Regions from separate parts of the Homo sapiens genome. Here region 1 is linked to region 2. Evidence: promoter capture Hi-C in human tissues and cell types (Jung and others, 2019). All regions are on one chromosome and are shown on one strand. Each heading gives the region's core, a stretch centred on a gene start or on the middle of the fragment in contact. The rest is flanking DNA. Distances are from core to core; before and after follow the strand shown. Region 1 has its middle 90 kb from the start of SGCZ. Region 2 holds the start of SGCZ (sarcoglycan zeta).

What was found. Contacts are between HindIII fragments. The study calls those that stand out against the background at their distance.
Region 1: a fragment that was not itself captured here is called in contact with the fragment with the promoter of SGCZ in region 2 in 4 of the 25 tissues and cell types used here (H1 embryonic stem cells, dorsolateral prefrontal cortex, hippocampus and 1 more).

What each region holds. Positions count from the first base shown.
Region 1 is chr8:15,325,487-15,331,430 of GRCh38, forward strand. No RefSeq gene overlaps it. Among named protein-coding and RNA genes, the nearest start is that of SGCZ, 90 kb to the left of the region's middle. The HindIII fragment of the contact is 3,077 bases long and covers 2,308-5,384 here.
Region 2 is chr8:15,235,246-15,240,676 of GRCh38, forward strand. SGCZ (sarcoglycan zeta) reads right to left here and starts at 3,186. Exons shown (of 8, transcript NM_139167.4): 1 at 2,340-3,186. The coding sequence starts at 2,378. The HindIII fragment of the contact is 17,338 bases long and covers 1,079-5,431 here.

The sequences.
Region 1 (5,944 bases), core at 2,596-5,095, 91 kb after region 2:
GAGAACCTCTTTCAACAGATAGTGAGAAAGACTTCTATGACTACATTCAGCAGAAATTCTGAGACTCCAAGGAACGAAGCAAATGAAGCCTGCCCTTCCTCCCAGGCACAGCCCAACAGGATTCTTAGTAGACTTTGGTGTTTTTAAATGATTGCCTCTTCTTTATGCTTTTGCTTGAGTTGTAGTCAATAAAAACTCTTCCATTGACAGACAAACAAAAACAATAGCATTCTGATATCAAAACATGAGCACAAAGCTGACATTTTCTATCTCTCTTCCTGGAAATAATGCAAAAGCAATAACAATAATCTGAAATAATAATTTTTAAAACCCTGAAATCATTCTTTTTTATTTCTCTGCTGTTAAAAAGAAAAATGGATCTTCCTTCAGTACAGCGCATCTCTTCTGTGGGAGTCTCCTATCTCCACCTTCTCAAGGACCACTCTGGGCTGTATATTTCACCTTCTTCCCAAAGGAATCCTTCTTTATTCCATTCAGACATTCTCAAGTTTCTCCTTTTAAAAATAAATAAATAAATGCTTTTCCGGAAATCCCGATTCCTTATAGTTGCTAGCCTTATTATTCTTTCTACAACCATACTTTGGAAAAGAGAGGTTACACTGTGAATCTACATTTTTTCACCTCTGATCTATCTTTAATACCCTTTAATCCAACCTCTGCCCCTACCATCCCAATCAAACTGATCTCATGGATCAGTGGTGGCCTTCTTACCAAATCTTCTGGTCGTTTTTTCAGCTTTCAGCTTTCTTGAACTCTGAGCATTTACCGCTGTTGATTACACCATATTTTATGAGACTTCTCACCATTTAAACAAATAAACTACAAATTTCTAGTTTTCTCCTCTCCCAATTTACCTAATCTTGAATTATGGAGTAGCAATATCCTTTTTCAGCAACTCACTGAAAAGCTGATTTTTCAGGTATCTTCAACAAAATGAAATTATTGTAAACTACAGGTAGACAATGCGCAGTATTTTTAGTGAACAGATTGAGAAATCATCAGTATAGAAGTCATCCGTATATATGTTGCCTTCCTCTTCCATGAAGTTATATTTGGTTAATTGTATTTAGATGAACTTGATAGATTATTATTTAGTTAAAAATCTGTCAGTGATCACTGCTCCCATTTTCTCTGACTACCTTTAAATGTTGGCTTTCCTCAGCGTCCCATTCTAGGCCCATTAATTTGTCAAGAACAGCTTTGAACAGGTGCTTTTAAGCTCAATTTGGTCCTGCACAGTTTTACTTAATTAGAACAGTGATTAAAGCTTTATAGGTCCAACATTAAATTCATCTGTACTTACTTGTCTGACTGAATACTCCTTCCCTGTACTCAGAGAAGGCCACAACTCCACCCAGCCTTGATCCTTGGTGTCATCATTGTCTACTCGTAAACTTTCCTTCCTCACATCTAAGTGATGACTGTGCGTTTAACCACTTAAGCTCATGTATTTCTCTGCATCTGATCTCCTCTATGCTCTACTCATTCCTTTAGTTCTCTTCACCATAATATCTCAAGCAGATTTTAGCCAATCCATCAAAAGCAGCCTCCGTCCCTCTGGTATTTTCCCAAACCTACATCCAGAGAGTACTTTCCTAAAATGAAAATGTGACCGTGACACTCCTTTGATTACAACTCCTACACAGTTCCAAACTGTCTTCAAAATAAAATATGAATACTTAATTTTGATATAAAAGGCCTCTCGTGATCTGCCACCTACTGATCTGCATTTATTTTATGACATTTTCACACTGCCACAAAGGGGCTTTAGAAGTGGGCAGTTTTGATAGGCTGCTAGTTTTTCCCTGAGTCCTTCTGCCCCTCTTCTAGAATAATAGAGGGTGGCTGGCCACAAGTCCACTCTGCTAGACACTGTACATTCCAACCTTCCCTACAGCTAAGTGCAGCCATATAACCATGTTATTACCAATAGAAGATGAGTAGAAATTACGCATAAAACTTTTGCATCATTTCCCCTCCAAAAAATGCTGTAATCTTAATCTCTCTCCCTCTTCCCATGGAGTAGAAGACAGACAAGGAGCTGTCAGTGTTAAACAGTCAAATGAGGACAATTCCCTGGGAACGAGAAGCTGAAATAAATGATCTTGAAATAACTTTTCTGGGTTGAAAGCTACTTTCTTTCCCTAAACCACCAGCAAACTCCAGACTATTGCATATCAGATAGAGACATTTTAGCTCTTTGAGTCGCTGTGTTTTGGAATCCTTTTGGAGCAACTAGCTTAGCCTGCAACTTATCCAATACAGCAGCTGAAGAGGAAATGCTTGTGTATTTCCAATATACAAACTATATTAAGAAGAAATTGCAAACATAGTTGCAAAGAATAGAAAAAAAATGAATATTTCTGCCTTGAGTACTTGAATTTTGAGCAAGTCTGTACCAATTCCAGTTAGATAAAAGACCAATTCAGTCTCTCATTTCTTGGCTCTTGCATACATTATTTCCTCTACAGGAACATGTTTTCAACCTTCTTTTCCAGAAAAAAAACTCTGCCAGTCTTTCAAGTTTTAACTTAAATGACACATTATACAGGAAGTTTTTTTGCTAAAATCCATACCATGTATTATTTATCATTCACATGGATCCCACTGCATTGTAATTACTTGTTTAGTTGCCTGTGTTCACCACTAGATTGTATACTCCTTGATGACAGGGACAGTGTCTATTGTGTGTGGTATTTTATAACAAAAGCCTATTTTAATGTGTGGTATGTGGTAGGTTCTCAAATAATATTTGTTGAGTCTTGATTATATTGCTCAGTTAATTATACAAAATGAATCTATTATTGCAACCTCCACCTATCTCAAGAATTGTATATGGTCCAATTAAACAAGAATTATACAAGAAAGTTGCAAAGTCTAAGAAGCTGTATCTACAGCCTCTTCCCAAACGTAGCTGCCCTTCCTCTCCAAAGATAATCACTATCTTGACTTCTAACACCATTGATTAGTTCTGCTTGTCTTTGAACTTTAGTAAATAGAATCATTCAGTATGAGAATATAAATTATGGGAGGAAATAAGAATAAATCAAAGCATTAACAGATGAGAATTAAGTGTTGTAAAATCTGAATAATTATAGCTGGAAGCTCACTTATATGGGAATAATTAATTTACTTTAAAAAGTGAATATTTCCTATTTACATTGGATTTTTACTTGTCAAATACCTACTTTTAGTATTAGTGTTGACTTTGTAAAGAATCTGACTTCTGGCTAATATTAAGAAAAACAAATATCTGCTCTTTGAATGTTTTTTAATTGTGAATTTAACAGATTAAATTAACAAAGCTTAAAACTTAAGATTGCTAATGTTCTGTCTTATAAAACTATTTTATTTAAGTGAACTTACTGAAAAGATTATTTTAAATCTAATATCAGATGTTCGTAAACTTCAACTTGAACATTGTAATGTATATTGAACTTGTATATAGCAGTATAAACTTTTTTTCCTTCTTTATCTAAGCTCACTTAAGTTTAAGACAGTAACTTACACAAAATGATTCCCTCAGCTGCAATCTCCTAGAAAGAGCTTTCCTCTGTCATTTATGTTATTTTCAACCTTAAGCCTCTACACAGTCCACATAGATCTTTATTAAAGATATCTACCTGCCATTCCAGCATCACAAAAGATTATCATTGACATTATCTAAATGCTATCATCTTCCTTATACATACAAGATATTTATTTTCCTTGAAATAAGAAAACAAGCAGATGTTAAAGAAATGGACTGTGTTTCCACATATCTCTCCCTTATCTTCAATGGTCTCATTAACTCAGTAGGCAATACTCAATCATCTTTTGTATATCTATTACTCAAAATGGATTTGTATCTGTTCCGAACTCTACTACCTCCTTGTCATTGATTTTTGACTTTAAAGGAGTATGAAGAGATTGCAAATACTTACACTTTTCATGAACAAATGATTGGAAAGATCCATTTTGTATTATTCTGCTTCCTTCTTACCTTTAAGTATATGAATATGTACATATTCACACACATATATAAAAATACATATTCATATAAAATGTTTGAAGCCATATAAATATAGACACAGGTATAGACATAGATAGCTGTTTTTTATTCAGGTCATTTTTCTTTAAATCATACATAAAGAGAACAACAAACCTGCGTTATCATAAGTGGCAAGCTTCATAACATTTAATTTCCAGAACTTGTTCTCTGAACCTACTGACTTGATATAACTTGAAATAACCTTTAGCTGTTCATAAAATTTAACAAGAGGAATAATTCTGAAGTCTGAAAGGAATATATTAATATTTGCAAAATAATAGAATTTAAACTCAATGTTGGTCACTTTAATTTTAAGGTAACGTAAGAAACTAACTTCACCAAAAATAACACATCTTGAAAAATGAAACAGATACAATACTATATGAAAGAAGGTGTGTGAAAAGATAACTAACTGTATTACAAAAATAGAAGATATATTGAGAGACTATTTAATAAGTCCTTGACTTTTAATAAACTTCACACCGCCCAACATCTGAAAATGCATTAGGCATGTAACTCAGTTTTTAAAAAAAAAATTATAGAGAAAATTTATAGACTTCCACTTATTATTCTATAATGTGAGGAAATAGAAATAGCCTAGTTACCATTATCTGCTTAAGAGGAATGACATCATTCCCCAGCCTTCTCTTCTCCAGACCAAATCACCCCAATTTCCTTCTTCTTTTTTTTATTAGTTGAATTTTAATCACCTTTTTGGAGCTCAACCGCAAAGCTATAAAATGTAGCCGCTGACAAAATTAGAGTGGGAAGATAAGAAGTTAATCTAAACTGTATGTGGATGAAATCCAAACCACAGCAAGCTTTTCATGGTCTATATTCATTGTAAAATTCAAGACATAATAAGAAAGGTCACCACATTACATTTAAATTCAACATTACTATTTTATTGTATCCAACTCTCATGCTAGTTTTCTTAACTGTGATTTATTCACTGTAGTATTTTGCCCTCTATTTTACAATTGCCAGGTTTTTGTGTTATATTTGTGCATTGTAAGGTATGCCTAGAATTATATTTGTTTAACATCTTTTTTCTTCTAAATTTTATAACTTCACACTTATTTGAATTTCCCGTCTGACCCATATTCCCATGTGAATTCACCATGATTAGTTGAATTTGATTAGGCTTTTCACCATGACTGTGTGGGCTTATTCTGTCCATGGGTAAAATTCTCTATATTGTAGTTATCAGTCAACTCACTCATCTTTACAAAAATAACCAACTTACCTAATTACAGCTGCCTTTTCTGACGGTGTCATCCTTCTAAACAATACATGCATCACTGTCCTCATTCCTCTCTACATCTGGGAACTTAGGCCTTGACTTTTCATTTTAATCATCAATGTTAGACAGCTGTAATAAGTTACAGTAGCATGACTACACTATGATAACCTTATGAACTTATTAATGTGGATGTGGATAAAGAAAATGCCAACATCCATTGGTCTCAAAGTTCTTTCATTAATAGTATATGTACCAGATAATCTACATGTCTTAAACTTCATAGAAGCATAGATGTTCAATTTGAATAAATGTGTGACACCCCCTAATCCAATTCCTGGGCTTATACTTAAGTTTCTTCAATTCACTCTCTTGGGAAGCAGCCTATTTTATTTTCAGATTTTCAACTATCTTACATGTTGAGACGATTTATCAGCCACACTTCACTCATGGGCCATAGTTCTGTCCTTGAGGCATGGCAGACAGTTTCTTCTGCTTTTCTGATATTTCTCATATTTGAAGACAGTTCCCATTTCGGCTTCAAATCTCTTTTTTTTCAGTGTAAGTGTTTTCAGGTTTCTCTCATTCAAAGCCTCCTCTACAAGCTTTAATTTGTTGAAATCCTTCCTAAAGTTGACACAACATATGAAGTA
Region 2 (5,431 bases), core at 1,936-4,435:
TGTATATATTTCAGAAGGATTCCACAGCCTTCGTATTCCACAAGTGTAGTCAAAACTGCCAACATAAATTTATTCCCAAAACTGGAGGATCTCAAACATTTTCTAATAAGGCTTGACTACATCTCCTCACTTGCCAGTTTTGACCCTCAAAAGTAGCTTGTCCTTGACATAATTTCTCAACAACCTCAATAGATCCTTGTATCTAACATGCCTTCATTTCTTCCCAGTCAGTCATTGCCAATATACCCCCTCATGCCCAAACCTTTCCAGTTCCCTACCCTCTGCTGCCAGAGCACTAAGTCCAGTACACTCTGGCTATGAGGATCTCTGGATTATCTGTGCAGGAGTAGTGACATTAAGCTGAGATCTTCTACTAATTCTAGACATAAGTTTCCCCAGTGGGTTTGCTCTTTTGCTGATTTAAACAACAATGTATTGGCACTGGGGTTCAGAGTGGGATAAGCTAGGAAACTAAAGGGATTTCAGGGGAAAGAATCACCCCAAATCATTTCTCCCTTCCATTTCTCTTAACAGAACGCTCTCTTCTGTGTCATACCCTAAAGTTAACCAAAAAATAATCTGGATACTCCACCTCTGCATAAAACACAGATCACAATCATTATCATACATTCTTCTTCGCATCTCAGATAAAACCTACCCCTTCTCCCAAGAGACTGGGATGCTTGGGAAAGAGAAGTAGGGAATCTTTGCAAACATAAAGGCAATGTGTCCTATCGGAGTAGAGCAGAGAGATAAGAGGAAACTTCTAGCCCAGGCCAAGGTCTACTGACTATGATCTTGGCAAAAACACAGAAACTTGTTGGCCAACTTTAAACGAAGCATCAAATCTGCCTCCTCCCTACTTCCCTTTGCCCAGGGAACTCAGTCTTCGGTGGAAGTGGTGTTCTAGGTCTTCTCACTGTCCTCCCTCCGTCCTGGACTGCATCTACAGTCAGTGGCAGGGCGATTCTGGCAGGCGCCACTGTTCTCTGTCCCTCCTTCCTTCCCCGTCTATGCAATCTGGGGCGCCTGGAGAACTGGGCTCCTGCGTGCCCCCTGGCCAGGGCACAGGACAGGCTGCAGACAGAGGCTTTGGAGCTCTGCAGGGGATTTTGCAGCCTGCCTAGCTTGTCGGATAAACCCATTTCCTTGACATTTCAGGGCAAACCTCTATTCGTCGTTTCTCCAGCGGGTGGGGGGGTGCCTAAACATTCTCACTGATCAAAGAAGCCAGAATCCATCTGAACCTCTGAAATAGTAGAACGTACCAAATGCCTAGGGGTAAAGAAGGGTGGAGGATTTCAATAAAAGAGGTGCTTCCAGTGTCGCCCCCTTTCCCGCTTTTTCGTTTACGGTGAGCGGGACATTTAAAGTATTTTGTGGTTTGTTGGTTTTTTAAAGTTTTTATTTATTGTGTGTATATAAATATATATATTTTTTTTTCTTGAAGGGAAGCAGGCAGAGGTGCCCATAGGCAGAGGGGCGCGTTGTCACCCCGGATGCTCCCTCCGGGCAGGCCCTCACGGCCAAGCAGGGGACCCCAGAGGGAGAGGGCGCGGCGCGGGGAACCCGCGGAGCGGCGGGGGGCTCCAGGCTGGTGGGAGACCGTGTGCGGCCGGAGCCTCCGCAGATGCCGCCCCTACCAGCCCGGCTCCCGCCTCCCCGCCCCCTGCCCGAGTCCCCGGACCTGCTCCCGCGCCTGGGGCTAGGGCAGGCTAGCCGTCCCCGGCAGCGGGGGTACCTCTCCAGCCCCTGCACTGCAACTGCGGGAGGAAACACTGCCCGCGGGCGGTGGGAGGGAAAAGGGGTCTCACGAAGTTCTGGGATAAAAACGGGCTGTCGTTGCAGATGCCTCTGTCACGCGAATCTCCGAGCGGAAATGCACTGTCCCCGTGCCGGGCTGGGGCACAGGCGGGATCGGAGCCGGGAAGAGGAGGCAAAGTGGCGGCGCAGCTCGGACAACTTTGCTGGGAAAGCAGGCGACAGCGGGCAGAGCTGGTGCCGCTGCCCCCCCCGGGGAGACGAGCCGGCAAGAGGCGCAGGGTCTGCACCCCAAATGCTGCCGTCACGGACCAGGAGGAGGACGGGGTGGCCGCTGGCGGGAGGAGCAGGCGGGGAGGGCGCCCAGCCCGGGAGTGCAGCCTGGCTCGGGAGAACCACCCTCCGTGTCCTCGGCCCCAGCAGGGGCGCCTGCGCCCGGGTGCGCGTCCCCCCAACGCCCCCTCGTCGTCCCGCGGGACCACCAACTACTCCGCGCCGCTGGAGGAGCCGCGGGAAGGAGAGGGGAGAGCAGGGAGCGCCGAGAAGCGGCCGCGAAGCCCGCCCGGACCCGCACGTACCTTGAGCTCCTCAATGTCCAGGTTCGTTGATCTGTCCATGGAGCGCAACTAAACGAAGTGGAGAGGAACCGGGCGAGTGGCACCCAAAAACAATCTAGTCTTTTAGTTTCCAGCTTAAACTCAGCTTTATCCTCCTCCAAGCCCCGGCAGCTCCTCTCAGTCTCATTCTCCGTGGTCACGCCGCCTCCACCGGGTTAAAAATAAGGAAAATAAATAAATAATAATGATAATTCACTTTATTTTACTTCCTCAAAGATTTAGTGACAGGTGATCTCTACCGCGGTGCAACACAGCTGAGTCGATTGAAACAGGGGCCAAAAGAAAAAAGGAAAAAAAAATCCACTCTATTTAAGATTATTTCTTCTTCTGCAATAAGCTTAGAACCCAGCGAATTGCTGCATCCCGAGAAAAAAAGCTGCTTCCCTGGTCAGCATCATGCGGCAAATTTCAAGCAAATGTGTTCAAACTGAAGAGAAGAGTGTATGATAAAAGGCTTCCTCCGTCAGGCTTACTCTGGTAGGTAATTTAGCTCCAGTCCCAGGCATTAGCAATGATCAGTTTCCCCGGCAAGATAACAGAATCCCCGAAGTCCTGCATAGACTTAAAAAATGTCTTGTAGCTGAGAGGTATTTTCTCAGTGGGGAAAAGAAGATAATCAAGTCAGAAGGGAACGTTCTCCTTTGAAGGTTATGCTAAAAGAGTTGAGGGAATAGGAGGTGGATCCAACGGAGAGAAAAAGAGGGAGAGAAAGAGAGAGGGAGAGAAAAATTTTCCTCCTGCTTCGCTGTTTTACTGGCCTTCACCACCAGGTGACTGACTTCGCTTCTCTCTTCCCACAGCCAACACTAAGGGGATTTCTCTCATCTGTCAAAAAGCAACATTTCCTCTCCAGACAAATACTATCGCTGGGTCTTAAAGCCTGCCCTGTGTCCGGAATCCACTAGGTGACAATCATTTTAATTCATTGCGTACATTGCTTCATCTTCCTGCAGATCTGGGAGGAACATGCTTGTGTGTATCACCCACATGTATTTAAATATACTCACTTCAGATCTCTGCTGCTTTCAGCATCAGATTTTTTAATTTAAAAAAGACTTTTATAGAAAGTGACAGATAAGAATATTAAAGGAAATTTCCTGGAACGATGCTTCTTATGATAAAGCAGTCTTTTATTAGAAAATTGTTCTTTACATAGATTCTGACAGGTCAGTGCATTTAACTTGTAGGTTGTAGATTTGGGGAAAGGGCTCGTTTTCTTCATTTAAATGTCTCAGTGTAAAACTTGACTTTTGAAGCGTTTTAAAGACTCTTGTTTTATTATGACACATAAACTATTGAGACTTAAAGATGTTTACAGATTTGGAAACAGAGCTGTATAAATACTTTTGTTTCAAAAAAAAAGTGTTTCTTTTTTTAGGATTTAATATGCACATTCCAGTCTCATGGTCTCTCTCTAACATCATCTCCGTCCTCTGCCTCCCTGAATTCCAGCCACCTAGTCTATTGGTCCACCTGCCAGTACTGGCTCTTTAATTCCCATTCTTGCCCCCTCGTTAAGGACAGCTGTCTCTCCCCCTAGTTCTTTATAGTTTTAACACTTCTGCTTCTGACTAAAGTCACCTGAGCAGAGAAAAATTTTTCTCAGGTGAGTCTGTCAGATATTCTCCTTTATCCTCTTGTCGTAGCAGCATTCTTAATTTACCATTATTTAATGTATGCTGTTATTATCCGTTTGTTTGTTTGACTCCTCCAATAGACTATAAACTCTTGAAGGCATGTTCTGGACGGTTCTTATTCACCAAATGTCCCAAGAGCCAAGCAGCTAATAAGCACACAAATGTGCATGGAACAGATAAATGTGTGGAAAGAAACCTTTACAGTTAATATTCTAATGTCTGAAACCCTGATGACTCCCCTCCTCCCCTCACCGGCACCAATGGAGCACATCCCAGTTTTTCTCCTTCTACTTTGCAGCTAAGCCTGGAGGGCTCAGCTTTCTCATGGAGGATGTCCATTTCATTAGTTTAAGCCTAGTCTATTCCATGCACTTGCCTAAGCTATCTTTCTTTCAAACTTTGACTTCTGACTACAGCTTTTAAGATTAACATCAAGTAGCCAAAAGTCCATAATGAGTAGGGCCAAACATCAGATTCTCAAAATAAACTTCATGTGCTTATAAGACATAATTATTTTGCATAATATATGATGAAAAATAATAAAGGTTCAGGCTGAGAGTAGATGAACTTATATAAGACTTTTAACTCTAAAAAAGAGCTTCTCTTCTAGAAAGTATCAACAATTCAACATGAACAAAGATAACTACTAGGATGATGCAAAAGTAATGGCAGTTTTTGCCACTGAAAGTAATGGCAGAAAACACAATAACTTTTGCACCAACCTAATACATAGGCTTTTGAAAGTCAAGTCTTTCCATATGAAAGAATTTGAAATTCCCTGTCAACTAGTCATTGCCTAACTTTAGAAAATTGAATAAAACAAGCAAATTTATTTTGAACATATTAGCAAACTGATATTATTTAAGGTAAGTTTTCAATTTGCAGTTGTGAAAATGTAGTTCAAGGAAGGTATCCATAGAAAAATGTTGATGTTTAAATATTATTCACAAAGGGAAAACTGCAGTTTCTTAATATGACATATTATAGTTGAAAGAAAAAATGATATTGTTCTTAATTTTATGTGTGTGTATATATATATATATATATAGACTCTAATTTATCTGTAGTGAATTTTAAAATATGAAATTATATCCAACATTTGATGTTGACCAGACTGGCATTATAAGCCAGTGGTCCCCAAATGATATGGCTTCTGGGTCCCCATAGAAATCTCATCTTGAATTTTCCCTCCCATAATTCCCACATGTTGTGGGAGGGAACTAGTGGGAGATAACTGAATCGTGGGGGTGGTTTCCCCCATGCCCTTCTCATGGTAGTGAATCAGTCTCGCGAGATCTGGCGGTTTTATAAGGGGAAACCCCTTTTGCTTGGTTCCCACTCTCTCTCACCGCCTCCAGGTGAGAAGTGCGTTTCGCCTCCCGCCATGATTGTGAGGTCTCCCCAGCCACGCAGAAC